2 separate regions of the Homo sapiens genome follow, and region 2 is linked to region 1. Evidence: promoter capture Hi-C in 16 types of primary human blood cells and fetal thymus (Javierre and others, 2016). All regions are on one chromosome and are shown on one strand. Each heading gives the region's core, a stretch centred on a gene start or on the middle of the fragment in contact. The rest is flanking DNA. Distances are from core to core; before and after follow the strand shown. Region 1 holds the start of TSPAN2 (tetraspanin 2). Region 2 has its middle 46 kb from the start of VANGL1.

What was found. The method cuts DNA at HindIII sites, captures the fragments that hold promoters and counts their contacts. A CHiCAGO score of 5 or more calls a contact.
Region 2: a contact is called between a fragment that was not itself captured here and the fragment with the promoter of TSPAN2 in region 1, in 1 of 17 cell types (M0 macrophages). The highest score is 5.4, in M0 macrophages.

What each region holds. Positions count from the first base shown.
Region 1 is chr1:115,086,416-115,091,655 of GRCh38, forward strand. TSPAN2 (tetraspanin 2) reads right to left here and starts at 3,088. Exons shown (of 8, transcript NM_005725.6): 1 at 2,949-3,088. The coding sequence starts at 3,017. The HindIII fragment of the contact is 10,227 bases long and covers 1-5,240 here.
Region 2 is chr1:115,593,818-115,599,057 of GRCh38, forward strand. No RefSeq gene overlaps it. Among named protein-coding and RNA genes, the nearest start is that of VANGL1, 46 kb to the right of the region's middle. RefSeq lists an enhancer at 2,051-2,345. The HindIII fragment of the contact is 5,252 bases long and covers 568-5,240 here.

The sequences.
Region 1 (5,240 bases), core at 1,838-4,337:
GCGTCACCCCCTCGCTTTGCCCAGCTCCATTCTACCAGTCCTTCCAGGTTTAGCTCGAATAGCTCCTTCTTAAGGAGAACTTTTCTGGCTCCTCATCATGACTGTGATCCTTTCTCTAAACTCCTTACTTAGATCACATATAGAGAAGGTCGGATCTAACCTCACTGGTTAACACATTCAAGCACTTAAAACTGCACTGCTCCTACTTCCTTTCCTTACTGTGCTTACGGTCAACAGTGTGAAACTTGTCACTTGATTCCACACTGTCTTATTTTTGTGTTGTTCCATATCCACTGGTCTCGTTTCCTCAATGAGATGAGCAGCTTAGGGAACTGTGTTTATATTTATAAATTATTATTTGTTTAATCATTGTTTAACAGAATGGGTCTCAAATTTGAGCATGGATCAGAATTATGTGAATGGCTTGTTAAATTAGATTGCTGGATCCTACCCCCAGAGTTTCTGATTCAGCAAGTCTGGGATGAGCTGAGAATTTTGTTTGTTTGTTTGTTTGTTTTTGAGATGGAGTTTCGCTCTTGTTGCCCAGGCTGGAGTGCAATGTGGCACCATCTCAGCTCACTGCAACCTCTGCCTCCCGGGTTCAAGAGATTCTTCTGCTTCAGCCTCCCAAGTAGCTGGGATTACAGGCACCCACCACCATGCCCGGCTAATTTTTGTACTTTAGTAGAGATGAGGTTTCATCATGTTGGCCAGGCTGGTCTCGAACTCCTGACCTCAGGTGATCCGCCTGCCTTGGCCTCCTAAAGTGCTGGGATTACAGGCATGAGCCACTGTGCCCGGCCTGAGAATTTGTATTTCTGACAAATTCCCAGGATATGCTGATGCTGCTGGCCCAGGAACCACTTTTGAGAACCACTGGTTAATTGAATGTACCACAGTGCTTAAGAGAAGGTAGGCGGCCAGGCGCGGTGGCTCACGCCTGTAATCTCAGCACTTTGGGAGGCTGAGGCAGGCAGATCATGAGGTCAGAAGATGGAGACCATCCTGGCTAACACGGTAAAATCCCGTCTGTACTAAAAATACAAAAAAACTAGCCAGACGTGGCGGAGGGTGCTTGTAGTCCCAGCTATTTGGGCGGCTGAGGCAGGAGAATGGCGTGCATCTGGGAGGTGGAGCTTGCAGTGAGTGGAGATCGGGCCACTGCACTCCAGCCTGGGCTACAGAGTGAGACTCCGTCTCAAAAAAAAAAAAAAAAAAAGAGAAGGTAGGCTGAGTTTGAATACCATCCCTGCCACTCACTAGCTGTGTGATCTTAGGTGACTTAACCAATTTGAGCCTGTTTCCTCATCTGTAAAAAATGGGGATAATAATAGTATATGTATATCAGGACTCTTGTGAGGATTATGTGTAATAATGAAAGTAATATGCTTAGCACTGTCCCTGACACATTGAAAACATTCAATGAATCCTTCCAGCTATCACTGGAAAGGCTGGTACAATATCAGCCACTAAATAAGCACTGAACCCAGCTTAAGAATTCCTCCTCAGGCTTAAAACTTCATAAGGCTTTGAATTCATAAGCAGTGAGAATGAAGGTTGTCACTGTGGCGTGACATCTATAATTAACAGCTTCTGAAATTAAGCCAGATTCCTAAAAAATACAACATAAAGGGTCTTCAGAAACGCCTCTCCCTATAGTATGCTTGATGTAAATCCCCACGTGTACAAAGGCCATGTGTCTCTTTAAAGTTCAGGGGATGTCGAGGAGGTACCTCCTTCACACCTTCCACTGCTGAAGGATACTGAAGAGCTTGGAGTTGCTGAAGTCACCCAGGCATCTGGGCTAATGGATTGACAGACAAAAGAGGAGCCCATCATTCAATAATTAATTAGTTGCAATCATGGGAAGACAACGTCCCCCAGAGCAGATAGGACAGCCACCTCCTCCAACCTGGTAGTTTCAAAGCACCCAGGCCCTGGCTGCTCTCAAACCTCTTTATCCAATGTTTCCCCTCAGGGTCTAGCTGAGCAGTTACACTGGCTGACATTCTCTTAAGAAAGCCCAAGAGGAAATGTGCAGAAAAGACAATTTTCAGACCTTGTCTCACAGTCCTGCAGGCCCTGGGACAGGGTATCCAGGGATGTAGGTCTGGTCTAGCTGTATCCCTGTCTCGATAATATAGGAGACAAGGGTCAAGATCCTATCTCTCTGTGAACCATGAATCCTGGGAACGCTGTCAGTTCAATCAAACCCTGCAAAGTTGAATGAGATCATCTCTGGGAGAATTAGTATTTAGCAGAGGCTGCGGCTGGGGGTTGTGGAGAGCTGCTGCTGCCCTTTAGAAGCCCTTCCATTCCCCATCCCCTTCTCAGAAGAGAACCCACCACCTCCTCTCACCCAGGGGTACTCTTACCCTGATGCCCAGAAAAAGGACGACGCCCCCCCACCACAATTTTCACTCCTATCTCCAATTTCCTAAACAAAACCATCACAGCCAGGTACAGTGTCCACACACTCGAATGGAGCACCACCCCAGGCAGCCCCAGGGCAGGGGTTTCTCTCCCATCACCCTGGCCAGGCCCTGGTTCCAGCTGGTAGGCAGAGTGAAAAGGGGGTGTGTGCACGGGAGACTGGAGGGGAACAGGGACCCAAGTCCTCCGGAGGTGAGGAGAGGCTGGGTCCCCGCACCTGGGGTCACTAGCTGGGAGATAAAAACCAAGGCAGGTGGGGGTTCCTTCCAGGAAAGAGCCACACGGTGTCTCTCCCCTTCTCACCATTTCTCATTGATCAACCTTCTGTCTTCCCGTTCTCTCCCTTCCATCCCTCCCCTCCCTCTTTGTTTGCCTTCTCCTCGCCTCCGCGTTTGAGCACCCAGCCCTCCCCACGAGCGCGACTCGGACGCCGCAGTCAGCAGCTCGGGGACCCCGGCCCCGCGCCCGCCACCCGGCCCCCTGCCCTGACCGGCCCTCCCGGCTCCTGGTCTCACCCAGAAGAGCAGGTTGAAGCCAAGCAGCAGGTACTTGATGCACCGCAGGCCCCCGCGGAAGCGCCCCATGCTGCGGCCCGGCGGCGGGATCCCCAGTCCCCAGGCCCGCGCTACGAGCGCGGGGAGCGGCAGGCTCCGGCGGGGAGGGGGCGGAGCGGGGAGGACCGGGGCGGGGCCTCCGGGGGGCGGGGCGGGGCCCGGCGGGGAGGGGCGCGTGGACCCCAAGCGGCGTGGCTGGCGACGGGTGGGGGCGCCAGCGGGTGGAGATCGAGCAGCCCGAGGGAGCACGTTCGCTCTTCTCCCGGACCCAGGGACCACCTTCCTTCCCTCCAGTGGGCGCACCGCCGCCGGCTATCGGAGCACCTGCAGGGCGGGAGCGCCCACCGGGGACTGGGGACCCATTTAATCAGCGCCCTGTGCGGAGACCGGTTTGAGGCCCGGGCGATGCTTGAGGGATAAGCACTTGGTCTCGTGGCTATGGAAATCTAGGAAGGTGACCTCGGGTAGAAGAGCTAAGTGGGGTCGGAGGTTGCCCCGAAGCTGGCAGGACCAGTCGCGGGGCACCTGACTGAGTGTCCAGGGCTGCGGCTCCGCGGCGCGGAGCAAGCACACAAGCAGCTTCTAGGGGACCCTCCCTCCGGCCCCTCCCCCCTCCTCGGGGGACTCTTACCTTAATAGGCAAGAACTGAGAGAGGGTGCGGGAGGCGGCGCCCTGAGTCCTGTGGGCTGCCCTCAACCCAGCCGGCCAGTGGAGGGAGTCTGACTTCTCATGTCCTGCCGGGTTCCACTGATCGGAGGGCTTGGAAGGATCCCAAATTTTCGGGATCTTAATTATGATGTGGAGATGGGAGAAAGGGGAAGGGGGCGGTTTTTGTTTTGCTTTGTTTTTATTAAGTTAGGCTGTTGGCAGGAAAATCAGACTCCCACTTCCATTGACTAAGTGTCTACAATATGTGGTGTCAGACAGTATGGGGGAGACAAGAAAGCAAAATTCGGAGAGCTTATGCATAAATTCAGCAAAACTTTGAGTGCCTATTATAGGCCAGACATAGTAGCAAGCCCCAGGGACTCAACAATGAGGAGACAGCCAGGCCCAGAACCACAGTCTCTGGTGTTGGAGACAGATCTGTAAGCAAATAGGGTGAGGAGAGAAGGGCTGGGTGCTAGACAGGTGTGCCTGGCCTGACTGCCTTAACCAGAAAAGGCATTGCTAAGGAGAGGGGCCTGATCTGGTCTAGAAGACGGAGCCCAGGCGGAAAAGATCAGTCCAGGAAGACAGCATGCGCAAAAGCACAGAGCTGGAGAGAACAAGGCCTCCAAGGGAGTTCTGAGAACCGCAGTTAGCCCGAGTGAAGCCTGGTGGGGGCAGAGTGAGTCAGGAAGGCAGGAGCCAAATCACAGCTTTCAGTCGGCTGACCAATGTGCCAAACTGTCATTGGCCCCGAGTGTCCCCACGTGCAACATGGAGGTAATAGTACTCCCCTCATAGAGTTGTGAAGATAAATGAGTTAGTATTTGTGAAGTGCCTAGAACAGTGCCTGGCACAGATTAAGTACTGCATAAGGGTTAGTATTATTGTATCACACTCTTATCAGTCAACCATTCAGTTTCTACCATGTTGCCATCTTTGCCTACCTCTGTGTCTTTGGACATTTGTTTGAATATCGACTCATTTATAAAAACGAGTCAAAGACAGAAAAATGAAAGTGCTGATTCTAGTAATAAACATGTCTCCAACAATGAAATAAAGACAAAGATGGAAGTCATTAGGTATGCAGAGAGAAGTGAATCATTAGCTTCAATCAAACACTTATAGTTCTATATCTGTCACCTCTGTTTTAGTATAAAGGAAAAGAACTAAGTTAAAGAGTAGTGTCTGGTACATAGAAGGCGTTCAGTAAATCAACTGAATGAACAATGATATTATACTTTAAATATATCGTTGAATTTTACATCTCTAAGACAAAATATGTCTAGAGATTATATAGAGGGAAGAGAACCCCTATTGTAACATATACATCTATTGTTTGTTTTTTTCATGCTACGATTTTAGCACACATGTATTAGAGACAGATGGTGGTTGCCTGTCCAACATAACAGTTTCAGATCTTTAGTATAGACTTGCCCAGTCGCCCTTTCACAAAGTTGTATGTCTTAAGGGAAGCTGACCCTTGAGAGGAATAGGCGAAGGTAATCCCATTTCCCTTGTAGTTAGTTCAGGAAACAAATTGACAAGCATCCTGACTAATGGGATGGGAGTGGTGTCTACTGAGGGGCCAGATGGTCTTCTTC
Region 2 (5,240 bases), core at 1,944-4,443, 510 kb after region 1:
GTTGCTGCCCTTTGACACATTTTGAATCCCCAGTGACTGCTTCTACTTGCCAAGCTTTTACCTCCAGAAGTCAGGGCCCATGATTTGTGATTTTTCCCCAGCTAGGTGTATGTGTTTTGGGGACCCTGAGGACCTGGGTGCCCCAGGTGACTGAGCCCAGCCTAGGAGTTTATTCCTGGAGAAGGCTCTGCAGTGACCCCAGTGCTTTCTGTGTGTGGATTTTGGCGGGGCAGCTGCTGCTGAGCCCAGGAAAGCTGGGCTGTGAGACCTGGCCCCTCTTGGGTGGACCACAGCCTCCTTGTGTGTCAGAGAAGAGCTGGCCCACCCACCTAGAGAAAGTGAAGGGAAAGCTGGGCTGCTCCAAGTCCAGGCCAGACCAGAATTTATTGTGTGGGTTTCTCTTAACCCAAAAGGTTTCCTTAGCGAGGAGAGGAGGGGAGGGGAGAGGAGGAGCTACAAGCTAAGACTCTTCTACCCAAGCACCTGCTCCATGTTGGATTCTTTGGGATCCTCTACAGCAGGGCCTTTCACGATTTGAGAATGGCCCAGTTCTCTTCTGTCTGTTGAAGCTTCTGCTACATTTTAAAGAAATGGATAAAAGCTATAACGGGATCATAAAAAGGGCAATTTATAAATTATTAATTAATGTTTTTGACAAAAAATGTATAACTGTATAATCACATTGGGAGAAAGTATAGGGCTCACATTTCAGGCTTTCTGGGCAGGGGAGACTCGGGCCCTCCTAGCCCTGCGCCTGCACACCTGGCTGTCTGATGTGGCCCTCCAGGTGGCGATGGACATGAGGGAACATGTGGTATGTCTGAGGAGAGCAGGCTGTGAATGTGAGAAGAAGGGAACTGGCTGTAGCAATACAAGGTGGGTGCCCCTGGATCTGGGTGTGAGGACTCAAGGACCCCAGTCCTTCCTTCCACAGCCTTCCCCAGCCTTGGAACCACTCCAGGCCTGTCTCCTGTTAGTTTGTAAGTGGTCGTTTCCTTGACTCTGGGAACGCAACCAAGTCCCGTTATTGCAGGATGGATTCCCACACCCTGCCCTGGGCCCCAGGAGTGCTGCTGTCCCTACCTGGACTATGGGTTGCTTTCTGGGGCCCTGAATATGGGAAGAGCAAGACTGAGGCATAGGGACCTGAGGAAAGAGAGGGTAGCCAGAATAACCATAAGGATTGTCTCAGGGCCTAGAGAATCTCTGTGTCGAGAAAAGCAGAAGTGATGCCCCTTGGGCTTTGTGTTAGGCGGATGGGTTGGGGGCAGCTGGGTGGGCTCGCCAGTCTAACCAGGCACAGAGCTGACTTGCTTCCTCTCAGACCCTGTGGCTATCTCTGGTCCAGAGAATCCAGTAGAAGCCTTTGTGCTTGTCCAGAGGCCCAGTGGCCCCCAGGTCTTCCTCTTCACTCCCCAGTCCCCCTCCATCAGCACTTCTCTGCCTAAGGAGCTCCAATAGTCTGATACCAAAGGGCCAGAAGATGCAGGTCCTCAATGCCAGGCAAGGGGTGCGACTTCTCAACAGTAGTGCTTGAAGCTCCAGCATGGATATGTGCAGATTGGTAGGAGGTCATGGAGACTCGGAGGTGCATGCAAGTCGTTGCTGTGGAAACAGCTCAAGTGTGAGGCGCTGGGGGCCAAGGGGGAAAGCAGCGGGTGGAGGAAGGGTCAGCTTCTAGTTCTGTGAGAGGCTGGGAGACTGTTTGAGCCTGGAGACAGGCGGCAGGCAGAGCCAGTGTTAGGCACCATTGCAGCACCATCAGGTCTCCTAGGACAGAAGAAGGGATTGCTTCTGTCCTCTCTGAAGATACCCTGACTGGGAACGGTGGTGGTCTGGGATGTGGGGGGACCCCTGGCCTCTTACAGCTCTGCCCCTGACTCGGTCTTGGGAAATCCACACCATTACTTCCCAAGACTGCCTGCTGGATCACTGTGGCTCAAAATGGGTGGCTTTGCAGAGAATTCTCCTTATTTACGCTCTGCCAATAACTGGAGCCTCTTCCAGGCAGACCATTGTGGGGGTGACTGATAGTGCCAGTGACTACAGTTTAGTCAGCCTGCTAGCTCTGTATTTCACTCCCCTTGAGGAGGTGCTGGCAGAAATCCCAGGAGCCCCATGAGGCTTCCTTTTCTATGCTGGCTGAGGAAGCCACAGCACTGGAAAATTACTGTAAATGTGCGTCTGGCGCCACCTAGTGATCGAGGCCCTCCTGCACCCTGTCAGACAGCTCTCTCAGGAAAGCAGTTTGCCTTCTTGCAGTGCACACTTCCTCAGGCTTTGGTGTGTGTGACGGTCACCTAGGATGCTTGTCAAAAATGAGGACTCCTGGCCGGGCGCAGTGACTCATGGCTGTAATCTCAGTACTTTGGGAGGCCGAAACAGGAGGATCGTTTGAACCCAGGAGTTCAAGACCACCCTGGGTGACATGGTGAGATCCCCCACAAAAATTCCTGGGCTCCAGACCCTGAGGTTTTAACTTAGTTTGTCTGGGGAGGAATCTAATAATGTGTTTTCCTAACTAGTATCTCAGGAATTTGTAAGGCAAGTCTCTGGACTACATTTTGAGAACCAGTCTCTTGAAGGACCATGCCTCTTAAGTGTCTGCTTTGCACAGATCATTATGTGCACTCACTGAGTTTTGAGAACTGTACTGAACACTCCTAAATCTGTATCTTTAGGCAAAGTCTCTTGAGTTTCAGCTGCTATTTTTTGACTGGTTGCTTTCTGTCTCCAGAACAGACGCACAGAATTATCATGGCCAGCTCTGAATTTTTAATCTCTTTACATCATCCCAAACCGCCAAATAACCCTTGTATTAGTCAGGGTTCTCCAGACAAACAGGATGTACATATATTTGGAAAGAGATTTATTAGAAAGAATGGGCTCATGTAATGATGGAGGCTGAGGGGTCCCAGGATCTGCAGTCAACAAGATGGAGACCCAGGAGAGCTGATGGTTGAGTTCTCATCCAAAAGCCAGAAGGCTTGAGACCCAAGAAGAACTGATATTTCAGTGCAAATATAAAGGCAGGGAAAGTTTGTGTCCTGGCTCAAGGCAGTCAGGCAGGAGGATTTCCCTCTTAAAGGAGGGGCAGACATTTTGTACTAATCAGGCCTTCAACTCATTGGATGAAGGCCACTCACAATTAGGGAGCGCAATTTGCTTTATTCAGTCTACTGATTCAAATGTTAATCTCTTCCAAAAACACCTTCACAGACAGTCCCAGAGATAATGTTTGACCAACTTGACCCCATGGCCAAGTCAAGCTGACACAAAAAATTAACCAGCACAAGTCTACTCCTTCTCAACTTGGCATGCATATGCATGTACTTGAACCATGCTAATCTCCAAACAAAGATGGTAACATGGTCATAATTTCACCTACACTGATACAACTGTCCTTTGTACAACAGAAAACACAATAAACCCTTCCACAGAGGAAGAAGCAATGTCTTTGAGCTATGTTCACTCTTCTCTGTGACATACCAAAACTTAAATACTATCATATAAAATTAGCAATACTTAAATACTATGACATAAAGTTAATACATCTTATGTTACATGATAAGGGGAAAAGAGGAGGAAAACAAAGATATTCAACACACACACACACACACACACACACACACACACGCATATGCACACGTATACATATCTTGTTACCTTCTTCCACTACCCATTACATATTTCCCTTATCTTCAGCAAGCACCTCAGCTGTTTGTGGTTCTTTACCTGGTGGGGTGATATAAACCTTTTGTCTGAAGGGTTTGAGCCATTAATAATCTTGTCTGAATTGCGTTGTTTTGCTTTTCCATTGACCTTCATCACAGAGCATGATAATACTAAGAGATATCCTAAGGGATCTACTATATTCCAGAATACTCCTCTTTACCTTCACTGTGGAGCAGTAGTCCAATTTCCCCTTGGTGTCCAGATTGATCATCCCAGCTGACACTGTAACTTCCTTCTTGGGCTGTTGACTTGGAGGAGCGCAACGTGTCTGAGTGTCATTCTTAACTTCCAGTTCAATAGAACCATTGTTGTGTCTCTTGGTGAAGCATTCCTCCCTTTGGAACAAACATCTCTTAGCCACCTGAGCATAAGGCCATAGGAACAGGAAGCAAACATTTTGCTAGTGGGTCATTAAGGGTAGTACTGAGTAGTGTCACTCCCATTTTCATCCCTTGATTCCTGAACCTATAAATCCTGGCTATGAGAAAAAGAGCACCATGTACTAGATGCTGATTCAGAGCATATATAGCTTTGTGGAAAACCTTGCCCTAACCCTGAAAGGTATTGCCACCTAGCTGGCACTGCAACTGAATCTTCAAAAGGCCATTCCACTGTTCTATCAAGCCAGCTGATTAAGGATGGTAGAAAACATGGTGAGACCATTGAGTTCCATGAGCGTGCACCCACTGCCCCACTTCTTCCTGCCTGACTGCTTTTGTACTGAAACACTGTTTTTGTTTTTTTGTTTTCTACCTTCAAACTCTAACTCAAACATTGGCTCTTCCTGGGTCTCAAGCCTGCCAGCCTTTGGACTAGAACTACACCATCAGCTCTCCTGAGTTCCAGCTTGCTCACTGCAGATCTTAGAATTTGTCAGTCTTCATAATTGCATGAGCTAATTTCCTATAATAAATAAACAAAGAAACAATCTCCCACAGAACTCTGACAAATGCAGATTTTGGTACTGACAGTAATGTTTGACCAATTGTCTGGGCAACCCATGGTGCAGTCAGGTTGACACATAAAATTAACAATCATAACTTTTTTGCTTTCATTTAGCTGTTTTAGGAACCATCATATTCCCAGTCACCAAACTAGAAAGCAGGGAATTATCCTTGAGTCTGTCTTCTTCCTTACTTCCCCATAGCTATTCAGTGATTTATGCTGATTTTGCCTCACAGAACTCTGTCTTCTCCTCTCTATCCCGCCTACTATTTGAGTTCAGGCCTTTCTCCATTATTTCATAGATATTTCGATTGCCTCCTAACTGGTTTTACTGATTCTCTCTTGCCCCTTCTTAAATCCATGCTTGATACACTAGCCAAAGGGATATATTTGTTGGTTCACTGTTTAAAACACCTCAATAGTTTCCCATCTCCTAGAGCAGGAATTGGCAACGTTTTCCTATAAAAAGGCACATGGTAAATATTTTAGGCTTTGCAAACCATATGGCTTCAGTCACAACTACTCAGTTCTACTGTTTTAGAATTAACAAAAGCAATATC